Linked DNA regions of Homo sapiens: regions 1, 2 and 3 are each linked to region 4. Evidence: promoter capture Hi-C in 16 types of primary human blood cells and fetal thymus (Javierre and others, 2016). All regions are on one chromosome and are shown on one strand. Each heading gives the region's core, a stretch centred on a gene start or on the middle of the fragment in contact. The rest is flanking DNA. Distances are from core to core; before and after follow the strand shown. Region 1 overlaps AKAP5 (A-kinase anchoring protein 5). Region 2 overlaps MTHFD1 (methylenetetrahydrofolate dehydrogenase, cyclohydrolase and formyltetrahydrofolate synthetase 1). Region 3 has its middle 5.4 kb from the start of ESR2. Region 4 holds the start of SGPP1 (sphingosine-1-phosphate phosphatase 1).

Region 1 (2,700 bases), core at 201-2,700, 740 kb before region 4:
GCCAGCTTTGGGCTTCAGTGCTTTGGCTGCTTTCTTTCTTCTCTTGAAGCAAAGCATGGATGCCTTTTCCTTCTGCCTTTCAGCCCCAGGACTACCTTCTGCTGATCTCTTCTCATCCTTGTTTTCTACATGAATTTCTGAAATTGTGGTTTCCATTTTTACACTGCACTCTTATTCTCTAGAAAACTGTATTCTCTCTTCCTTAGCAGCCTTTTGTGACAAAAAGATGAGCAAAAATGTCACACTAGGTAAAATTTCTTCCAGGCATATTCATACCTTTCATCTTACTCCATACAGTTGTTTTAGGTGGTTTCTCTAGTATAGAAATGCCCAGTTTCTCTATGGCTTGTAATTTCTCTCTTTAATTTCTTGATGAAAGCCCTTCTTTGGATAAATTTTTGCTTTATTTAAAGATCAACCTGATGAGAGAAAAGAAAGTGGTATTTTATTTCACTATGAGCCTATTATTTTCTGTGGAGACTATTTCAGTGAATGTATAAGATTCTACCAGGCATATTTTCCATATAATAACTTAATGAAATGACTGGAGAATAAACATTGGGGTTTACTTTGGCCCTATTAAAGAGTTCAGTGTGATTCTATTTTGTTTTATCCTCCTTGTTGAAACTTCATTTTGGATTACCCTGCAAGTCTGATATTATCAGTTCTTTAGTTGTGTTGTCTGTGTGAATTGCTTATGACTCTAAAGTGCAAGTTAAGCAAACAACAAGAACCAAAAATGAAGTGCAGGATGAAAAGCAAGCTGATGTAATCTTTATCACACTCAATAGATAATTTTAAAGCTGCAAAGGACTTTAGAGATTATTTGAGATTACTCAAATCCAGCCAGATGACAAAACTGAACTCCAGAGGGGAGCAGTTGTCTTGTCAAAAGCCATGCAACTAGATAAGGTCATAGCCAGAGTTAGAACTAGAGACTTTGACTCTCTAGTTTTACCATTATAACATAAGGTTTCTGTTCTAAAAATGTATGTTCCATCAAGGAAGTGCTATTTTTCATACATATTCTTAGGAAAATTTAGCATTACTGTCATTTCCCACTCTTAAATTAGTTGTACAATTTTGACATTTTCATTTAAGTACTGTATCTGCTGTATCACATGTTTCCACCATAATCTGCACATAGTTGGAAGTCAGTAAGAGTAGTAATAGCTGACATTTATTGAGCAATTCTTGGGTATTAGGCAGTGCATGCACTTTTACATACATCTCTAATCCTCACCACAATATTACAAAGATGGTGGTATCACCACGTACAGATGAAGCAATTTGGCTGAGATTACGGCAGAGCTGTAACAGAGCTCAGATTAACACAAGATTGCTTGTTGCTTAAAGCTTATGTTCTGAAACTGGGCTTTAAGAGTTTCGTCAGAAAATGAATTGTTTGGGGATACTAATCTGCAGTGTTTCATTAGTAAAAAAATTAAAAAATTGATTAATGGTCATTTAACCATAAGGCACTTATCAACTCATAATTGAACCACGAGTAGACTGAGTTCTTGTCATTTGAAAACCAAGCTTTTGAAATTCTTTATATTTTATTTTTTTGGTTCAGGAACTAATTTAAAAGCCAAAAATAAGTTGGCAAACTATGCAATTGGCAAACTTAGATAATATAAAGGTGTATTGAAAATTTAATCCTTAGAATGGTATGATGGCACCAAAGAATGGAAATGGGAGGTGATTATCCAACAAAGATCCTATGAATTTTAGTGGGTGGATGCCCTAAAATAAGCAAAGGGACTCATTCTTTATATTGTTTTTATGTAAATCCTTCACTGAAGTTTCATTTGGGTAACCCATAATTTTATGAACTGTAGAAGGAACTGGAACCCTGAAAATCAGTTTATGATCTAAGTAAATATTATCTTAGGTTGGGTGTTTCATACTGTGTGCCTCTAACAGAAAGATAAAGTCATTCTAGAACAATGACGGAACTAAAATATGAACATTTGACAGTGTTTCTCCTCACAATGTTTCAGTGAGCACTAGAACCTAAGCTGATAACTGTTTAAATCTTCTCACCTCTTGTGAGTTTTCAGCACCTGAGCATTTTTGTTAAGCAGAGGCTGTATTACCACATAATAGAAATATTGAAATGAGATGTTTAGGAGTCTGTCATTGGAAACTAACCTGGATTGCGCAAAGACAATCGTTTGAGAAGCTCACTTGAATGTATCTCACATACTAGAAATAAAACGAATACCCAAACAGAAACTTAACTAACGAGGGAAAATAATGCAGTCTGTAGACAATAAAACTTTGCAGAATGTCAGACTGCAAATGATTCGCTCTTAACCAGCAAGGGTAGCTTTATCGCCTCAGGAAATCTTAAAGTCCCTGTGCTCATTTCCTGATGGAATTGCAAGTCTCATGTCACAGAAAACACCCCCTTTCCTTTTTCCCTTGAGCAGCCAGTACCCGAGGAAAGCAATGCATCTTTCCCAGCACCAGATACGGACCACGAAGCTTCCTCCTGGAGGAAGGAATCTCGAATTCTGGCTTGACGCCCCTTATGGCAGGAGACAGAGCGCAGGATAAAGTACTCAAAAAGGAAAATGCCGGGGGCGTGGAACAGATAACCCAGCTTCAGGCTGTCTGCAGAATTATAATGTAATGGCCAGAAACCCAAAATCACATTTCTCAAAGAGGGATAAAGAAGGAAAAAAGCCACCGGCA
Region 2 (2,700 bases), core at 201-2,700, 690 kb before region 4:
ATTTTTTTTTTTTTTTGAGACAGGGTCTTGCTCTGTAGCCCAGGCTGGAGTGCAGTGGTGTGATCGTAGCTTACTGCAGCCTCGACCTCCTGGGCTCAAGCAATCCTCTTGCCTCAACCTCCCGAGTAGCTGGGACTACAGGCATGTGCCCACCCCATCTGGCTAATTTTTAATTTTTTTTGCAGAGAAAGCGTCTCACTATGTTGCCCAGGCTGGTCTCAAAAACTCTTGGGCTCAAACAATCCTCCTGCCTCAGACTCCCAAAGTGTTGGGACTACAGGTGTCAGCCACCCCACTCAGCCTTTAATTTGAATTTGTTTTTTCATCTTGTAAAAATGAGATGATGGGGTTAAATGAGGTCATGAGTGTAAAGGACATGGCAGCCTCTGGCACACCCACCCTCCCCACCGTAACACCTTTACCTCTCCTCTGGACACCCTACCTCCTCATCCAGATGGGCAGTCTTGGAGTGGCAGGTGGTCACTGTGGCATTGTTCCACAGAAGCAAGTCATGCATCGGGGCCCCAACTATTTTACTGCGCCCAACCACCACAGCATGCCTTCCGGCAATCGGCACCCCTGAAAGAAAAGCCAGCCTGCATCAGAGTTGGAGGATAGAAGCTGCCCTCCTTCGCATGCCACGTGGAGAAATTAGAATAAGTGCACAAAAACAGGTTCTTAACATCAAACAGAAACCTTCCTAAAAGCATTCCTTCTTTGGCAATAATATTCTCAACTCTAGGGTTTCAGCTATAAATTGGGACTTGTACTTGTGTCCTTCTGGCCGTGGGTTTTTGGGAGCAGCTTAAGCCAAGATCATTCATTGAGTCATAGGGGAGTGGGAAGAAAACCTACACTCAAAGAAAAAAGAAACCCTGACATACAGCTAATCAGCCATACGGAAGAAGACATCAGATTAAATTACATGGGGAAAAAAAGTTAAAACAAATAGGGTGTATGTAACAGGCTGGAGAGATGTGTAAGAAATTAGATTAGTATCGGTAATTCCTTCTAACTTTGGTAAGTTTGTTTATACAGTTCCTCACCCAAATTTCTCTTTTGGCTTAGGGCCTGAGCCATAGGGTTACTTGCAGGGAAGTGATAAAGGGGAAATTGAACTGTGGCAGCAAAGCTTTCTTTTTGCTATCACAGCATCCATTTTTCTGGCAATATACCAATGTCCTTTTCAGGGCTGACTCATACTCTACTAAAGACAGCCTGAGTGAGTACCCAGTAGTGGACAGGGGACCATATTTCTTCCCTCAGCTGATAAGATCCAATCCCATGACTGTTAGGCATGAGGATGGAACCAGGCTGTAGGTGTTTGTGGCCACAAAGTGGAGCCCGAAAATGAGCTGTCCACAAAGAAGAAAGCAGAGAGAAGTTGACGACTTCATCAGAGTCCTCAGGGCAGTCAAGGCTGAGGGCAGTGGACCCTTGCTCAAAGCAGCAAGGGTTTAAATTGTGCTTCTCGCATAAAATCATTTTTTTTCAGAAAAAGATAAACTCTTATAATAATGTGAACATCATGAACATCTAGAAGTAAAGACCTCAAAGTTTTAAAAGGTAACTTTCTATACTTTTTAGGATTCAGCAGAAGAGTTAAAGCTGCATCAGGGCAAATGGTAGCATCACTCAATAAGAGGCAGTGGGAGGCCTTCAGGTGCTGTCCTCGTGGGATTTTTTTCTTTTAAGCAAGGCACTACAATGTTTGCTAAATATGCTGAAGAATATACATTTAACTGTAGAAATGAACTGTCAAAGCTTGACCTTTGACCTTTTCTTGCCAACCACAGAAAATTTTCATTTATGCTGGCCAAAACTTTCCACTTGAAACTTCTGACCTACTTCTTTTTACCAGGACCCATTTCCTTGTAAAAAATAACCTCTGCTAAAAGTATTCATAATGAAATTAAAATAGCAAGGTGCTAACTAGTAACGGGACAATATGGCCAACTGTGCAGGAGACCCATTTCCAGCCATCTGTCGAGTCCTGGAACTACTGTGGAGATTCAGTGCCCATTTTGGGGGTGGGGGGAGGTGGGGCTTTTCACTTCATATCCTTTTAAACTATCCAAATTTTTATTACTGTATAGGTTAAAATAAATTGCTTTGAACTCAGATAACTCTGAATTCAAATCTTGGTTCCGTTGTCTCCCAGACAAGTTACTTGCTCTCTCTGAGCTGGTTTTGTTTGTTTGTTTGTTTGTTTGTTTATTTTAGAGACAGAGTCTCGCTCTGTTGCCCAGGCTGGAGTGCAGTCAGGTGATCTCGGCTCACTGCAACCTCCGCCTCCCAGGTTCAATCAATCCTCCCACCTCTGCCTCCCGAATAGCTGGGAATACAGGTGCATGCCACCCTGCCTGGATAATTTTTTTGTATTTTTAGTAGAGACAGGGTTTCACCATGTTGACCAGGCTGGTCTCGAATTCCTGACCTCAGGTGATCTCAGCCCGCTTCAGCCTCCCAAAGTGCTGGGATAACAGGCATGAGCCGCTGTGCCTGGCCTGAGCCTATTTTCTTAGCAGTTGAACAATAACAGTACCTACTTCACAGAGTTGCTGAGAAAATTGAGAGAAAATTTAGGTAACATCCTTAGTAGACAGGCCCTTCTGCCAATCAAGTCCATTTATTTATGGCCCACAATGTACCTCCTCTATGCCACCACATGTCAAGACCAGGATTCAGGAAATGGTGCTT
Region 3 (2,700 bases), core at 193-2,692, 570 kb before region 4:
CAGATCTGGTTTGAACCCTCTGCTACTTACTAGCTGTTGGGCAAGTTCCTTAAATTCTCTGAGTCTTAATCTTCTCATCTGTAAAATGGAGACATAAGGAGTACCCACCTCATTGGATTGTTTTAAGGATAAAATTAAATAGTGCAGGCAAAGGATTTACAAGCAACTGCTGAATGAATGGTAGTTATAGCCTCCTCCTCATCATCTGTGAGCAAACACCCTCATATTTCCTTGTGTCTCAGGTAGACACTTAAGGTATTGCAAGCATTAAGGGAGCATTGTCACAAAGAGATAAATGCATGAGGGCAAGATGCAGTCTCAAAGAAGAGTGTTTTATGAAAGAATAAATGTAATGCTGAGTGTCAGAAAAAAATTTTTTTTTTTAAAGATGAGGTATCTATCACCCAGGCTGAAGTGCAGTGGTGTGATCTTAGCTCACTGAAGCCTCAACCTCCCAGGCTCAAGTGATCCTCCAGCCTCAGCCTCCCGAGTAGCTGGGACTACAGGTGCCACCACACCTGGTTAATTGTTGTATTTTTTGTAGAGATGGGTTTTCGCCATGTTGTCCAGGCTGGTCTTGAACTCCTGGGCTCGAGCGATCCTCTCATCTTGGCCTCCCAAAGTGCTGGGATTGCAGGCATGAGCCACCACACCCAGCCTGTCAGAAAAATTTTAAGGTGAAAATAACTAAAGAAGTTGTTAAGAATTTTCTCCCTTGAGTGGTATTTTAGACTGAGATGAGGGAGGGTAGAGGTAGGATGAGAAGGAAGGGATGGGGTCCGGTTGAAAGGCCTGTGAGATAGTAGCAGTGCAATATGGCAGATGTTGACAGCCTCAGTGCTAGGAACACAGAAACTGAATCTCTTGCAAGGAGGCAGGTGTGCATCTGTATGGAAGTCAGATGACCTGTGTTCCTATGAGTGCAAATCTGGAAAACACCCTCAAGTTTCCTTGTCAGCAAATTGGTGATAAAATCAACATTGTAGGGTTGGTGTGAACATGCAGCATGATGTGGCCATGCAAGTTCTTTGTTAACTAGAAGCCAGTGTCATGCCAGGACAGCAGTCCTCCTAGTAAGCTGTGGCTGGTGGCGTGGTAGAATACGTGGAGCAGGCTGAGGAAGCACTTGACTTGACTATGAGCAGAACCATTAAGAAGCTAGTTAGCTAAACTGCCTGGACAGTAGAAAAATAATATGTGAGAATGTAAAAGGAAGAGAAACAATGTGAGGGGAGAGGAGAATGCAGAGATCCTGGCCCATGGAACAGCATTGGTGATCCTTAAGTAGCTGCATGAACTACTTGGAGAAGTTCATTTTCTGTTTATAATTCCCAGCAAAGGAGAGGACTGAATAAGAGAGAAGAAAACGATTCCTTTCTCTGGTTAGGTTCATCAGATCAAACGGTGACATATGTGAAAGAAGCACGCTCTGTGCACAAAAAATCAAGTCTGTATTTTTATAAAAGCCATTTCTGGGCTGGGCGCGGTGGCTGACGCCTGTAATCCCAGCACTTTGGGAGGCGGAGGCGGGTGGATCAGGAGGCCAGGAGATCGAGACCATCCTGGCTACCACGGTGAAACCCTGTCTCTACTAAAAAAATACAAAAAAATTAGCCGGGTGTGGTGGTGGGTGCCTGTAGTCTCAGCTACTTGGGGGGCTGAGGCGGAAGATTGTGCCACTGCACTCTAGCCTGGGCGACAGAGCGAGACTCCGTCTCAAAAAAAAAAAAAAAAAAAGCTATTTCTGTAATGAGCATCACTGGAGAGTTAGTTGCTATGGGTCTAAAGGACAATATGAGGCAGTTATAGTAACTTTCCATGATATGAACAAAGAAATTGAAAATGTTAGATACATTTACAAGAAGATGTAGAAAAAACTTTAGTCAAAATTTTTGAAATATTTTTTGAAATATTAAACTATGAAATCAGACAGTCTTATCTATGGTCTCAAGCCATGTCTGTCTGTACCTTTTTTTTTTTTATCTCATTTCAGGGAATATTACACTGGCTGACTTATTAATATCTTCTGAGCCAGAAAATGTAAGGAAGCTGCATTTTCAGAATTGCATTTGAGTCATTTGTGAAATTGCATATTACAATTTGCCGCCATTTCTAACAGTCCTATAACTTTTTTTTTTTTTTTTCTTAACTGGGTGTTCACATTCATGCCAATGACCTCTAGGGGCTAGTTTCTCTTCTAGCTCAAGAGAATTGCTGCAGAGTTGGAAGTAAGGACAAAAATGTGTATGCTTCATGTTTGATTTCAAATGCATAGAAAATTAGAAACTTAAGGTATGCAAGGGATTTGTGTGGAATTTAAGTACCTTTGAGGGGCAGTGGACAGGACAAAAAGTTATTTTTTACCTGTTTGTTTACAAATAGCAAAGATCAAGACTGAAACACATGAGTGTGATTTAGAAAGAGTTGGCTGCAGGTGCTGCTTGCTCAGGTGGTTCATTTAAACTGCAGGTCAGAGCAACCTTGTCTCATGGTCCTGGTGCCCAGGTATCAGGTTGGGTCTGTCTTGCTGCTTATGTCCTTGTTACCCTCTGAGGGCCCCAGTCCAACGCAGATCAATAAAGAATAAGTTACATAAATATGCTCATAGGTGGTCATTCCTAGACAAGAAATTGACAACATTTCATTCAACAGTATCTGGGCTCTACAGGACAGACATGCCTCCATTTATGCAACAAATAA
Region 4 (2,700 bases), core at 197-2,696:
CTCCCTGGTTCAAGCAATTCTCCTGCCTCAGCCTCCGAGTAGCTGGGATTACAGGCATGCACCACCCCGCCCGGCTAATTTTGTATTTTTAGTGGAGACGGGGTTTCTCCATGTGGGTCAGGCCGGTCTTGAACTCCCGACCTCAGGTGATCCGCCCGCCTTGGCCTCCCAAAGTGTTGGGGTTACAGGCGTGAGCCACTGTGCCCAGCCCTGCCCGGCTAATTTTGTTCATTTTTTGTAGAGGTGGGATCTCCCTATGTTGCCCAGGCTGTTGTCAAACTCCTGGACTCAAGCCATCCTCCCTCCTCGACCTCCCAAAGTGCTGAGATTATAGGCATGAACTACCACGCCTGAAGGAAAGTATTTCTACTGTTTTAAGGGCATGGGACAATTTCAAGCCTGTTTCTTGGAAGTAGTTCACATTCTTTAATTACAGACATTCACCTGATCATGGCGGGTGTGGTGGCTCACGCCTGTAAACACAGCACTTTGAGAGGCCAAGGCAGGAGAATCACTTCAGCCCAGGAGTTGGAGACCAGCCTGGGCAATATAGCGAGACCCTGTCTCATCTCTCTCTCTCTAGGTATATATAAAAGACATTCACCTGACCTGAGGAGTTCAGAGACCTTATAAACTGCTCTAGCTAGAAGTCAAGTTGGTAACTTGTGAGACACGGAAGTTAAGCGTCTAAATTAACGTTACCAAACTCAAAAATCTATACACTGCATTCATTCTCTACATTTATTCTGTGCAAGCCCTCTAGGTATTAGAATCTAGGAAAAGGAAATTTTACACTTAAGAACACCTGTGCTCCCTTAACATATACCAAAATATTTGATAAATGACACAGTATTTTGAATTTGTAGGTGGCTGGCTTTTCTTTTGCAGACCACACCTGTTAATATCACCTGGCCCTGTCTTGGGATCTACATGTAGTCTTGTCACCACTGGTCAATTGGCACATGGTTTTCCGAACATCAGTCGCCTGGGACAGCTCTGTAATTACTTGTTAATTACTTGAGTCGAATGATTCCGAACTCATGGTAGTTGCTTCGCCTTCATTGATCATTCACCATTTGGTTCTGTGCCAGCAGGATGCCCGGCTGCTTGGTCACAGGCATTGCGCAAGCTGGCACCGGGATCGTGGCCTCTTTAAGTCAACTTCTGGCTGAGGGAATCCGGCGACACTAGCCCGCGGAGAAGAAGGGCTGAAGGTGGAGCAGGGGGACACGCCGCGTCCCACCAGACGTACGCCGCGACGCCTGCTGGTGGATATTACCCGGGACCTCAAAGCGGCCGCCCGCCGATCCTCAGCGCCAAGCCACGGCCGGATGCGCTCAGGGCGGACCCGCGCGGCCCGGCCCCTCAGGGAGCCCGGGTGGGGGCGGGGCTGGGCGGGGCGGGGCGCGGCGCGCGCGGGGCGGGGGCGCGCGGCCTGTGGCGCCGTCACCCGGCAGACTCCGGAGGGTAGAGCGCTGTGCCGGTTCCGCTGCCGCTGGCCAGGAGCGCGGGGACAGTTCGGGGCTGCGCCGGAGGCCGGCCCGCCTTCCCGGGGGTTCCGTTATCATGTCGCTGAGGCAGCGCCTGGCCCAGCTGGTTGGCCGTCTGCAGGACCCGCAGAAAGTGGCCCGTTTCCAGCGGCTGTGCGGGGTGGAAGCGCCGCCGCGCCGCTCAGCAGACCGGAGGGAGGATGAGAAAGCGGAGGCGCCTCTCGCCGGAGACCCTCGACTGCGAGGGCGGCAGCCAGGGGCGCCTGGAGGCCCCCAGCCTCCCGGGAGCGACCGCAATCAGTGCCCGGCCAAGCCGGACGGCGGCGGCGCCCCCAACGGCGTGCGGAACGGGCTGGCGGCCGAGCTGGGCCCGGCCTCGCCGCGGCGCGCGGGCGCTCTGCGCCGCAACTCGCTGACGGGCGAGGAGGGCCAGCTGGCCCGCGTGAGCAACTGGCCGCTCTACTGCCTGTTCTGCTTCGGCACGGAGCTGGGCAACGAACTCTTCTACATCCTGTTCTTCCCCTTCTGGATCTGGAACCTGGACCCTCTGGTGGGCCGGAGGCTCGTGGTCATCTGGGTGCTGGTCATGTACCTGGGCCAGTGCACCAAGGACATCATCCGCTGGCCGAGGCCCGCCTCGCCGCCCGTGGTCAAGTTGGAGGTCTTCTACAACTCTGAGTACAGCATGCCCTCCACCCATGCCATGTCCGGCACCGCCATCCCCATTTCTATGGTCCTCCTCACCTATGGCCGCTGGCAGGTAGGGTTCCTTCTCGTCCTGTTCAGCCTGGGGGAGTTCAAAGAACTCGGAGTTCTCTTTGCTCTCTGCATTTATTTTAATTCGACCGTTCCCCTCCAAAGCCTCTCTTTCCACAGGTTTTCACAATACTCGCAAACAGGCCCTTTCTGGGTTTTGAAAAATTAAGTGATTGGGGGAAACTGGATACTTAGCCGTTGAATTCTATTTTAATATTAAATTCCAATTTAATGCCTTAGAACCCAAAGGACACACTTTTCCTAGAGTAATACATTGTCATTGGGCTTTGGTTGAGTTTTTTAAACGGCTTTAATTCTTGTAATGCACAGTGGAAGTGAATTTTTTAAATAATCGCTATGTAAACTAAGACCCAGTTTCACCGTAATATATGGTGCCTTCTTCCCTAAAACTGTTTCAGAAAGAGGTAAAGTCATTAGCTTTACCGTGAGACAG

Evidence for each region. Contacts are between HindIII fragments. The CHiCAGO score rates a contact against its expected background, and 5 or more counts as called.
Region 1: a contact is called between a fragment that was not itself captured here and the fragment with the promoter of SGPP1 in region 4, in 2 of 17 cell types (M2 macrophages and M1 macrophages). The highest score is 7.3, in M2 macrophages.
Region 2: a fragment that was not itself captured here is called in contact with the fragment with the promoter of SGPP1 in region 4 in 1 of 17 cell types (M0 macrophages); the score reaches 5.1 in M0 macrophages.
Region 3: a contact is called between a fragment that was not itself captured here and the fragment with the promoter of SGPP1 in region 4, in 2 of 17 cell types (megakaryocytes and fetal thymus). The highest score is 5.9, in megakaryocytes.

What each region holds. Positions count from the first base shown.
Region 1 is chr14:64,465,851-64,468,550 of GRCh38, reverse strand. AKAP5 (A-kinase anchoring protein 5) reads right to left here. Exons shown (of 2, transcript NM_004857.3): 2 at 1-419. The coding sequence starts at 156. It also overlaps a transcript of ZBTB25 not described here. Among named protein-coding and RNA genes, the nearest start is that of AKAP5, 1.7 kb to the right of the region's middle. The HindIII fragment of the contact is 183 bases long and covers 1,359-1,541 here.
Region 2 is chr14:64,415,767-64,418,466 of GRCh38, reverse strand. It overlaps MTHFD1 (methylenetetrahydrofolate dehydrogenase, cyclohydrolase and formyltetrahydrofolate synthetase 1), which reads right to left. Exons shown (of 28, transcript NM_005956.4): 7 at 443-579. Among named protein-coding and RNA genes, the nearest start is that of MTHFD1, 29 kb to the right of the region's middle. The HindIII fragment of the contact is 632 bases long and covers 1,135-1,766 here.
Region 3 is chr14:64,298,437-64,301,136 of GRCh38, reverse strand. It overlaps a transcript of ESR2 not described here. Among named protein-coding and RNA genes, the nearest start is that of ESR2, 5.4 kb to the right of the region's middle. The HindIII fragment of the contact is 3,583 bases long and covers 1-2,700 here.
Region 4 is chr14:63,726,811-63,729,510 of GRCh38, reverse strand. It overlaps SGPP1 (sphingosine-1-phosphate phosphatase 1), which reads left to right and starts at 1,446. Exons shown (of 3, transcript NM_030791.4): 1 at 1,446-2,250. The coding sequence starts at 1,567. RefSeq lists enhancers at 955-1,144, 2,105-2,154, 1,799-2,300 and silencers at 1,355-1,454, 1,745-1,844. The HindIII fragment of the contact is 15,620 bases long and covers 1-2,700 here.